2 separate regions of the Homo sapiens genome follow, and region 1 is linked to region 2. The links are contacts of gene promoters, found by promoter capture Hi-C in blood cells and fetal thymus (Javierre and others, 2016). All regions are on one chromosome and are shown on one strand. Each heading gives the region's core, a stretch centred on a gene start or on the middle of the fragment in contact. The rest is flanking DNA. Distances are from core to core; before and after follow the strand shown. Region 1 holds the start of TSHR (thyroid stimulating hormone receptor). Region 2 holds the start of LINC02328 (long intergenic non-protein coding RNA 2328).

Region 1 (6,067 bases), core at 1,224-3,723, 5.0 Mb before region 2:
TGATGGAAGAATTAATTGCCCTCATACCAAAATTTGACAAAGAAGTTACAGAAAAGAAAATAACAGACTACTATCCCTTGTGAACGTCTATGTAAAACTTTTAAACAGAATTTTAGCAAATCCAATGAAGGAGTATATTAAAAAGATGATAAACACGGCCGGGCACGGTGGTGCATGCCTGTAATCCCAGCACTTTGGGAGGCTGGGGCGGGCGGATCACGAGATCAGGAGTTCCAGACCAGCCTGGCCAACATGGTGAAACCCCGTCTCCACTAAAGACACAAAAAATTAACCGGGCGTGGTGGCGGGCGCCTGTAATCCCAGCTACTCTGGAGGCTGAGGCAGGAGAATCCCTTGAGCCCGGGAGGCGGAGGTTGCAGTGAGCCAAGATCGTGCCATTGCACTCCAGCCTGGGCGACAGGGCGAGACTCCGTCTCAAACAAACAAACAAAAAAAGGATAAATACATCATGATCAAGTGAGATTTATCCCTGCAATTCAAGGTGGGTTTAACATTCGAAAATCGATCACTATGATTCACCACATTAATAAACTACCATGGAACCATCACCACGAACAAGATTTAAAACAGTTTTATTACCCACAAAATTCTCTGGTGTTCATTTGTAGTCAGCCCTACCCTAGGCCTTTGCAACCGCTGATCTTTTTCCTGTCCCTATGGTTTTGCCTTTTTGAGAAAGCTATATAAATGAATCATTAATATGAATAATTACATATAAATACGTAATATTTTGAGTTTGGCTTTTTTCACTTAACATTATGCATTCAAGATTTGTTCCATAACAATACCATGGTAATTTTTAAAAAAACAACAACAAAAGCCCGGGTGCGGTGGCTCAAGCCTGTAATCCCAGCACTTTGGGAGGCCGAGGCGGGCGGATCACGAGGTCAGGAGATCGAGACCAGCCTGACTAACACAGTGAAACCCCGTCTCTACTAAAATTACGAAAAAATTAGCCGGGCGTGGTGGCGGGCGCCTGTAGTCCCAGCTACTCGGGAGGCTGAGGCAGCAGAATTGCTTGAACCTCGGAGGCAAAGGTTGCAGTGAGCCGAGATCGCGCCATTGCACTCCAGCCTGGGCGACGGAGCAAGACTCCGTTTCAAAAGAAAAAAAAAAAGAAAAGAAAATTTGTGCATGTTGTATCAGCAGTTCATTCATTTTTATTGCAGAATAGTATTCCAATGTGGAGGTATCAGAGTTTGTTTATCCATTATCTAGTCGCGAGACACTTGGTTCGTTTAGTGGTTATGAATAAAGCTTCTGTAAAATTTGGAATACACATATTTTAAATGTACGGTTTAATGAATTTTGATAAATGTATACATCCACTTAACCTCCAGCCTAATTACGATATGGAAACCCTGTGTGTTCCCTCCTGTCTTTTTCTAGTCAATCTTTCCTAACCTTTATTCTGATTCCCATAACCACAACTTTTTCCTTCCTGTCCTAGCCAAGTTCATATAAAAGGAATTATGCAGTATAGAAGGAATTGACATTCCTTTTATCCCAAGAGGAATAAGTGATTGAAGACTTTTAAGAAGGAAATAGGCACAATCTGATTTATGTTTGTAATGATCTTTTTGGCTACTGTGCGAAGAATGGTGAGTATGCCACTTAAGTATTATTTTTCTTCCCATCTTCCAGGGGGAATATGACTCAATGAAATTCTTGGGTCGACCAGAATTTCCATACTGGACCCATTATTAAGGGAACCTGGAATTATTTCTGCCATTCCCGATTCTTCCCAGCAGATGGCCCCAAAGTTCAGTTCCTGAATTGCCTCGCGGAGCCGCGGGCTGCAACGTGAGGCGGCCGCTGCCAGTCGACTCAACCACCGGAGTGGCCCCTGCAGTTGGATAGCAACGAGAATCCTCCAGGGGTGCAGGGCGACGGCTTCGGCCGCACCGCGGGCTAGCCAGGGCTGCGTGCCCGCCTCTGACCCTCAGCAGAGGTGTCTCTGGCCAGGAGGAGCTGAAGTTCTGCAGGACATTGGTCCGCCCGCGGACAGTCCACTCCGCGGGGACTTTCTCTGGATAAGGAGTGCGTGCGAGTGGCTCCCAGGCAGACAGGGTGTCTAGAAGGCTACACGCTAGGGAAGGTGGCTCCTTGGATTTAAAGAGGAGGAAAGGAGGGGGCATCTAAACTAGGCTTTGGAGAGAACTAATGGGAGGGGCGCCCGGGGTGGGGGGGCGGGCTGGAAAACAGAGGGGACAGCCAGGACTGGTGTTGGGTGTCAGGGAACAGACGGAGCGGACTGCGTGGGTCCAGCCAAGGAAAGTGAAGCAAGCAGACTTGTTTGGGTCAAGGTTGCCTAGGGAAGCGGAGCACTTAAGTGCCTCTTTTTCCCCTTCTCCAGCCTCCTCCACAGTGGTGAGGTCACAGCCCCTTGGAGCCCTCCCTCTTCCCACCCCTCCCGCTCCCGGGTCTCCTTTGGCCTGGGGTAACCCGAGGTGCAGAGCTGAGAATGAGGCGATTTCGGAGGATGGAGAAATAGCCCCGAGTCCCGTGGAAAATGAGGCCGGCGGACTTGCTGCAGCTGGTGCTGCTGCTCGACCTGCCCAGGGACCTGGGCGGAATGGGGTGTTCGTCTCCACCCTGCGAGTGCCATCAGGAGGAGGACTTCAGAGTCACCTGCAAGGATATTCAACGCATCCCCAGCTTACCGCCCAGTACGCAGACTCTGTGAGTACCCGGGAGAGATCAGGGTAGGACCCAGAGATCAAGGGCATCTGCAGAGGTGGCCCGAAGTGCACAAAAGCAGCTCAATAACAGCCCGAAGTAGTGTGTGAGTGTGTGTATGTGTGAGTGAATGTCTGTGTGTGTAGATGTGTGTGTGTGCTAAAAACTTAATCGCCCACACTTGGGAAGGTATCATTGTTGACATCCTCATTCCCAACACAGGAAAATGTTACAAAACTTTGGTGTACAATGACCGTGAGAGCTGTTCTTTCCAACAAGCTGCTATTCAGCACTTTGCCTAACCCTGGTTGAATCTGTTTTATTTGAATTAATAAGGATAATGGCATCTCAGGAACTGACCTTTTTGATCTTACCTTGGGTAATAAAAAATTGCAAAAATATGTATTTCTCCTTTTTGTTTCTCTAGATGGGAGGTTATCTTAGCAGTTCTGCTGATTCATCAAATTGTTGACAAAGGTTTAAGCAGGGGCCCTTTTTAAAATGAACTGTCTATACAGTATCTGTAAGTTACTTACTCAAATGTGAACTGCCAGTGAAATAGTACGTCCAGAACCCTGCTTTGTGATAGAGGTATAAAGAAATGAAATTTCATAAAAGTATAGTACATTTATCTGCATGTTAAATGTTACCAGATTAGAAACCTGATGTTAAATAAGATTATACACACACAACCTGTTTCTTAACAGCAATTTAAATCAGTGATCATTGAAATTGTAGACAAAACCAAGGGAATAAAGTCTGTCTTGATTAGTTAAAAAGAGAACAGAAAGAAAGGACAGTAAAACAACCTAGGCTGGTTAAATCCAGTTAAGATAAAAAAAAATGCAGGTTATTAAAGAAAATGTTGATAGATGAAAAGAAATGGGAAAGTTGCACCTCTAGATTTTCTCAAGAATTTAGCTCATGAAGACTATTTAACAGTAGATGAATATTTGAGCACAGAGATATATTTCTGTGCTCAGAGATATCCTAGTGTCTTAGCACACCTGAATTAATTAGTTCAATAACCTCCAAACAGTGTGGTAGTCATTCTCCATGCTGCCACCACAGAATAAGATGTGTAAAAGGTGTAATGGCCTCTTGATTACACCTCTACATAGGTTGCTTGTCACCTCTAGAATAAAATTCTTTTGTGCAGCCTACCAGATCTTTCAAGACCTAGTCAAGTCTTTCCAACCTCATTGCTCCTCATTTCTCTAACTTCCCCCTCCTGCTGAGAACTTCTGGCACTTCCCCAAAGGTCCCTGCTGTTACAGCTGCCCTTGCCTTTCTTCCCACTTTCTGGCCCCTCTGCCTGAAGCACATTTCACCCATTTCTTCACCCAGCTAATGCCTACTCCCAGATCCAGATCCTGGATCAACCCTGCAGGAAGCTTCTCCTGACCCATGACCTTCAGGCTGGGTAAGCTATACCCCCCTTCCCAACAGCGTTCTCTGCATGAACCTAACCCTAGCCCTTAGACATTGTCTACTTTCTTGTAACTTGTTATTTATTTGCATGCCCACTCAAGCAGGACACAAGCTTCTCTAACATAGGGAACTGCCATTCAACCCCGAATTCCTGAAACCCTGGAACTACTTAGACACTCAGAAAAAACAAAAAAAAAAAAACTTAAGTGAATAAATAAACAAATGAATATGCCAGGTCTCTGAATGTCCACTCTATGTTGGGGAGAAAGAAATCCAAAGACATCACTTCTTCAGAGACTTCTTTAACAGTGGCAGAAATTCAAGTCATTGAAGAGAGATGTGGCTCTGACAGTGAAAAGGAACTCGTAGACATCCTGTTTAAAATTCCACCAAAAGTTGAGAAAGAAAGGGTAATGGAGAATGAGCAATGGAACAGGAGTCAGGAAACCAGCATTCTCTTTAGCCCTTCTTTACTAACCATGAAATTGTGTAAGATGACTGATTTGGAAGGAGCCAAATTTCCTTCTGGGTAAAAGAGAATGTTCAACTAGGTGCTTTCTAGGTGATGACATGATGCTGATGAGAATAGTCTGAGGGAAGGCACTGAATCACAAGAAAAAGACATAAAGACAGTGGCAAGGAGGATCTGCCCTTGAGAATAATGGAGAGGGAGGTAGTATGTCCTGAAGAATAAAGTTATTCTGAGATCGAAAAGAGAAACCTGATAAAAAGTGTGGGTAAAACAAAATGGTAGTCTCCTTTGAACAATGGCTACTACCATCTGCAACAGTAGAAAAATGATTTTTAAATCTTTTGGGGGCGGTAGAACTCTTTGTTGAAGAAAAGCATATGAGAGAAGTAAAACATGTAAAGCTAACAATTATATTGTGTTTACTTACGGGGGCGGGGGGTCCTGTTCTCAGCGCTTTGCATGAACTCACCCAGTGAATCCTCACCAAATCCAATTAAGTAGGTGATGTTATTATGCTCATTTTATAGATGAGGACCTTGAGGCACAAAAATAAAATGAAGTAATTTGCTCAATGTTGCACAGCTTGTAAGTGGTAAAGTCAGGATTTGAATATCATATCATCAACTATGGAGCCTGCACCCTTAAGCCACCACTCTCAGATGAGAAGTGTGTCTCACCACACCAGTGTTCCCCTGATGGTCATAGGCTTTGGAGAAAAAAGTCTGAAAACAAGTCACATTCAGTAAACCGACTGATAACCTCGGGGGCTATTCATCAGATGCAAGAACTCAGAAAGCAGGAGGTTAGCAGGGAAAGGAAAGAAGAAGGAAGGAAGAAAGAGAGAGTGGAAGAGAGGCAAGGAGGACAAGAAAGACTAAGTTAGTCTTTCTTGACAAGAAAATCTAGATCTTTTTTTACATCTTTCTAGACAAGAAAGATCTAAGTTATGGAAGGTATTCCTTGCTGAAATAAACCAAGTTTTTGTCATTAAAAAGCCGTTCTGGGTGGTGACCTCTTTTTGGAATCTACTTAAATTATACAGGATCTACTACTGAGGCATGTTCTCTCACAAGTTTTGTATTATTCAGAGTGTACCTCTTTTTAAAGTTTTTGAAGAGCTTACACTGGTTTAAAATGTAAGGTATTTTGTTCCTGTAGAGTTATTTGCATTACTTCTGCAACCTTCATTAAGATGCTGTATAACCACTTCTTAGACATTTTACAAATTATGATGGTGCCGAGAACAACTCTTTCTAAACTTTATCTTCTACTCATAGATTATTGTTCTGAAAGGTAAACAGCTCTCTTGCCCTACTACCCATATCCCAGCCCCGTGGTCTTATGGATGCAGGGGAGAGAGTTACGGACTGTGGCCCTCACTGAAGAAGTGATGCTGTATCTTTTCCTCACTCCTCCCCTCCAGAAGGGTATGATGCTTTACCTGAGTGGAAGGTGAGGGAGAGC
Region 2 (5,615 bases), core at 1,303-3,802:
TTTCTGCCTGCTTATATTCTAGCCACCTGGCAGCTGATTAGATTGTGCCACCCAGATTAAGGGTGGGTCTGCCTTTCCCAGCCCACTAACTCAAATGTTAATCTCCTTTGGGAACACCCTCACAGACACACCCAGGATCAATACTTTGTATCCTTCAATCCAGTCAAATTGACACTCAGTATTAACCATCACATATGTCTTTGCTATTGTGAGTAGTGTGGCAATGTACATACAATAGCATGTGTTTTTTCCAGTATGATGACCTAAATTCCTTTCGTTATATACCCAGTAATGGTGAGGGACTAAGTGGCTAAGTTGGCTGGACTTCCTGGGTCAATAGGGACTTCCCTAAGGGGACTATCCCCTAAACCCAAATAAGTCACAGCTGCAAGCTAAGGGATTTAAACTTCAACCAATCAAAGGGGACTTTCCCCTAAGCCAAAATGAGTCACAGCTGCAAGCTAAGGGATTGAAACTTCAACCAATCATATAGGGAGTTTAAGGTCTAGCTACAGCCTGATGTTTTTAACCAATCAGGCCCATCAACCCACAAGTGGGTTGAAAATAAGCTAATTGTATAGGACAGAAAAAGGAAAAGGGGAGGGGTCATAAGGCGATATAAGCATAAGACACCCAAGCCAGAAACAGCAACCCTTCTGGGTCCCCTTCCACCACGCAGAAGCTTTACTTTCGCTTTCACTTTACTTTTGCTTTCACTTTAACAAATCTTGCAGCCGCACACTCTTTGGGTCCGCCCGTTTCTCTAATCAAGTTGTAACACTCGCTGCTGTGGTCCACAGCTTCATTCCTTGAAGCCCGTGAGACACGAACGCTTCCATTGAGAAAAACCTTCCATCAGAAGAAGACTTCTCGTCTCAGTGGGACTGCTGAGTTGAATGGTACCTCTGTTTTAAGTTCTCTGAAAAGTCTCCAAACTGCTTTTTATAGTGGCTGAACTAATTTTCATTCTCACCAACAGTGTATAAATGTTCCTTTTTCTCTAGACTCGCCAGCATATGTTGTTTTTTGACTGTAGAGTAATAGCCATTGTAACTGGTTTAAGATGATATAGCATTGTGGTTTTGATTTGCATTTCCCTGATGATTAGTGATGACAAGCATTCTTTCATGTTCGTTGGCCGCTTGTATGTCTTCTTTTAAGAAGTGTCTGTACATGTCCTTTGCCCATTTTTTAATGTATTCTGTTTTTTGCTTGTTGTAAGTTCCTTACAGATTCTGGATATTAGGCATTTGTTGGATGCATAGTTTGCAAATATTTTCTCACATTCTGTAGGTTTTCTGTTTACTCTATTGGTAGTTTCTTTTGCTGTGCAGCAGCTCTTTAATTAGGTCCCACTTGTCAATTTTTGTTTTTGCTGCAATTGTTTTTGGGGACTTAGCCAAATTTTCTTTGCCAAGGCCAGTGTTGAGAAGGATATTTCCTAGGATTTTTATAGTTTGAGAGCGTACATTTGAGTCTTTAATTCATCCTCAGTTAATTTTTGTATCTGGTGAAAGGTAGGGATCCAGTTTCAATCTTCTGCATACTAACCAGTTATCCCAGCACCATTTATTGAATAGAGTGTCCTTTCCTTGTTGCTTGTTTTTGTTGGCCTTGTTGAAGATTGGATGGTTGTATAGTCACAGTTTACCTTGTATCTGGGATCTCCTAACCTCCTAAATAATTTTTTAAAAATTTTCATACATTACGGTTAAGTTTTTGTGCTCTAGACTTTTATGGGTTTTGATAAATGCATAATATCATCTATCCACCATTGCAGTATCATACAGAATAGTTTCACCACTCTAGGCAATCTCTTGTGCTTCACCTACTCAAATCTGTGTCTGTGAACCTCTAGAAACCACTGATATCTTTATTTTCTTTATTTTTTCATTTTTAGAGACAGGGTCTTGCTTCGTTTCCCAGTCTGGAGTGCAGTGGCACCATATATATGGCTCACTGCCACCTTTACTTCCTGGGCTCAAAGGATCCTCCTGCCTCAGCCTCCCAAGTAGCTGGGACTACAGGTGTGCACCACCATGCCCAGCTAATTTTTAATTTTTTTTGTAGAGCCAGGGTCTTGCCATCTTGCCCAGGCTGCTTTCAAATGATATCTTTACCCTCTCTATAAGTTTGCTTTTTCCAGAATGTAATATAATCATGCAGTATGCAGCAGTCCTTTCATGCTGGCTTCTTTCATTTAGCAATACACATTTAAGAATCATCTATGTCCTTGTACAGCTTGATAGCTCATTCTTTCCTATCTCTGAATAGTATTTCATTGTATGGATATACCAGAGTTTATTCATTTCTGTGTTGAAGAACATCTTGATAGCTTTCAGTTTTTGGTGATAATTTTATAAAATTCTATAAACATTCATGTGAAAGTTTTCTGTAGTTAAAATTTCTCAAATCATCTAGGTAAATATCTAAGAACCCAGCTGCTGGATTACAAGGTAAAAATATGTTTAGCTTTGTTAGAAACTGCTAAGTTATCCATCAGAGTGGTTGTACCATTCTGCATTTTCTCCGGTGATGAATGAGAGTTCTTGTTGCTCCTCATCCTAACCAGTATTTAGTATTAGCATATTTTGGTTTTTAGCCCTCTTAATACATGTACAATGTTATCTCATTATTATTTTAATTTTTATATACCTAATGACAACCAATGTTGAGCATCTTTACATGTACTTATTTGCCATATATATGGTGGTATCTGTTTAGAACTTTTGCTTACTTTTTAATTGAGTTGTATTTTATTCTTGAGTTTTAAGCATCACTCTGTATATTTTGGATGTATTATTTTTATTTTTTCTATCTTTTTTTTTTTTTTACCAGATATGTGTTTCACAAATATTTTTTTCTCATTCTATGGCTTGTCCTTTAACTCTCTTAATATTTCTCAAAGAGCAGATGTTTATAATTCTAATAAAGTCTTACTTTTTTTTCATGTATTGTGCTTTTGGTGCTGTATTTAAAAACTCATCGACAAATCTAAGATTCCATAGATTTTCTCTTTTCTTTTTCTTTTAGATGTTTTATAGTTTTTCATTTTAAAGTTAGGTACTTGATCAATTTCAACTTAATTTTTGTGAAAGCTGTAGAATATGTGCTAGGTTCTTTTTGTTTTAATTTGAGTATCCAATTGTTTCAGCACTATTTGTTTAAAATGTCAACATTTGCTTCATCGACTTGACTTTGAATCTTTGGGAAAAATGGAAACTACCATTGCAAAATTATAACTGAGACAGTGAAAGATATTTGACCTAACCAACTCCATTTTCTTCTAACCTCCAAGCTGTCCTTGTTCATTCCTCGGTGTAGGCTGAACTAACTTTGGGAGGAACTTAGTTTATAGTTTAAAACAAAAACAATAACAGCCCTTTCCCCAGACAAACCTCCTTCTTGCCTGGGGACTAGACTGCCTTTGTAGGACTAACAAATTAGCCACAAGATTAGAAATTATGGGCTGGGTGCGGTGGCTCATGCCTGTAATCCCAGCACTTTGGGAGGCCAGGCGGGTGGATCATGAGGTCAGGAGATCGAGACCACCCTGGCTAACATGGTGAAACCCCATCTCTACTAAAAATACAAAAAAAAAAAAAAATTAGCCGGGTGTGGCGGCAGGCACCTGTAGTCCCAGCTACTCGGGAGGCTGAGACAGGAGAATGGTGTGAACCCAGGAGGTGGAGCTTGTGGTGAGCCAAGATCGTGCCACTGCACTCCAGCCTGGGCGACAGAGTGAGACTTGGTCTCAGAAAAAAAAAAAAAAAAAAAAACAAAAAAACCCTAATCTGCTCTTAAGATCAGTGATTGAGATAAATTTGCAGACCCTCCCCTTGATGGATCAGCTGGCACCACCCAGATCAATTAACTGGCTCATCTGATCTTGTGGCTCCAGCCAGGAACTGACTTGGCCCAAGAGGACAGCTTCAATTCCCTATGATTTTATCCCCTTCCTGACCAATCAGCACTCTTGGCTCACTGGCTTCCCCCCGCCTACCAAGTTGTCCTTAAAACATCTGATCCCTGAATGCTCAGGGAGACTGATTTGAGTAGTAATAAAGCTCTGGTCTCCTGCACAGCTGGCTCTGCGTGAATTACTTTTTCTCTATTGTAATTCCCCTGTCTTGGTAAATTGGCCCTGTCTAGGCAGTGGGCAAGATGAACCCAATGGGAAGTTATAAATTCATTTGAATATATGTTTGGGCCTATTTATAGGCTCTCTGTTTTGTTCCACTGATCTATGTGGTTTTTTTTTGGTGAGGTGAGGTCAATGCTATGTGGTCTTAATCATTGTAGCTTTACAGTAAGTCTTAAAATAAGATAGTGTGAATCCTCAACATTATTCCTCTGTTCCTGCAGGATTGTGTTGGTTATTCTGGATCTTCTGCCTTTTAATTTTTCCTATAGAGGCAAAAGGAAAGCTTCTCTTCTGCTCTCTGAGGATTTGCTGCTGAAAAAAACTGACAATAGATAGATTAACAAAAGAAAGTCATATAACTCTATTAATGTGCAGAAGCATGGGAGCCATGGAAAATATGAGTCTCAAAGAAGGGCCAGATGGCTGCAGCTTAAATAACACTCTTCATAGGGGAGAGGGAGATGGGAGTGCAGGCAATTTAGAGTATAGGCAATGATGTTTAGAGAAATGAATTAGCCTAAAAAAAGACAAAGTTCTTTTGAGATCTGGGCGAGGTGGTGGCAAGTTATGAGAAGGTGATGAGATGTTCACCATGAACAAAATTTGTCTTATTATGCAGATAGTGTCCCTGGTAATCTCTTGGAGCTTCCCTCAGAAGTCTAGATGAAAAATCTCTCTGAGCGTGGTGATGACTTCAGATCTAGTCTCTTCTCCAGTGGTTAATCTTTCCCTGTTTTCTGTTGAAATTTCTAGGAAGTGTGTTTTAAGACAATTTCATGACTTCTGGAGGAACTTTTTTAATCAGATAAGGGAACTTGAGAGAAGGGTTTTCCTGAGGCTTCAATAAAGGAAGGGGTAAGGGGGGGCAGAGATTAAAGAGAGGCCATGGTCCTGAGGCTTATTTCTGAGGCCTTTCAACATTTTTTTTTTCAAAGCACTCAGCATGCCAAACTGCCATATTTTGGGTTGTCATTTTCTGAACCCCAATAAAACTTTAGAATCAGCTTATCAATATCTCCAAAATAGTGTACTAAGATTTTCTTTGAGATTCAATTGAATCACTTGAGAGAGTTTGGAAGAATTGTCATCTTAAGAATATTGAATCTTGGCTAGGCGTGGTAGCTCACACCTGTAATCTCAACACTTCGGGAGGCTGAGGCGGGCAGATCACGGGGTCAGGAGTTCGAGTCCAGCCTGACCAACATGGTGAAACCCTGTCTCTACTAAAAAAATACAAATTATCTGGGCATGGTGGTGGCTGCGTGTAATCCCAGCTACTCAGGAGGCTGAGGCAGGAGAATCGCTTGAACCTGGGAAGTGGAGGTTGCAGTGAACCGAGGTCACGCCATTGCATACCAGCCTAGGTGACAGAGTGAACCTCTGTCTCAAGAGAAAAAAAAAAAAAGGGAATATTGAATCTTTAAACTTGTAAATACGAGGCATCTCTCCATATATTTACACAACTCTTTGA

What was found. The method cuts DNA at HindIII sites, captures the fragments that hold promoters and counts their contacts. A CHiCAGO score of 5 or more calls a contact.
Region 1: a contact is called between the fragment with the promoter of TSHR here and a fragment that was not itself captured in region 2, in 6 of 17 cell types (non-activated CD4 T cells, total CD8 T cells, activated CD4 T cells and 3 more). The highest score is 13.6, in non-activated CD4 T cells.

The regions. Positions count from the first base shown.
Region 1 is chr14:80,953,148-80,959,214 of GRCh38, forward strand. It overlaps TSHR (thyroid stimulating hormone receptor), which reads left to right and starts at 2,474. Exons shown (of 10, transcript NM_000369.5): 1 at 2,474-2,703. The coding sequence starts at 2,534. It also overlaps a transcript of CEP128 not described here. The HindIII fragment of the contact is 2,816 bases long and covers 1,277-4,092 here.
Region 2 is chr14:85,933,963-85,939,577 of GRCh38, forward strand. LINC02328 (long intergenic non-protein coding RNA 2328) reads left to right here and starts at 716. Exons shown (of 4, transcript NR_110155.1): 1 at 716-899. RefSeq lists enhancers at 201-250, 621-830. The HindIII fragment of the contact is 3,745 bases long and covers 681-4,425 here.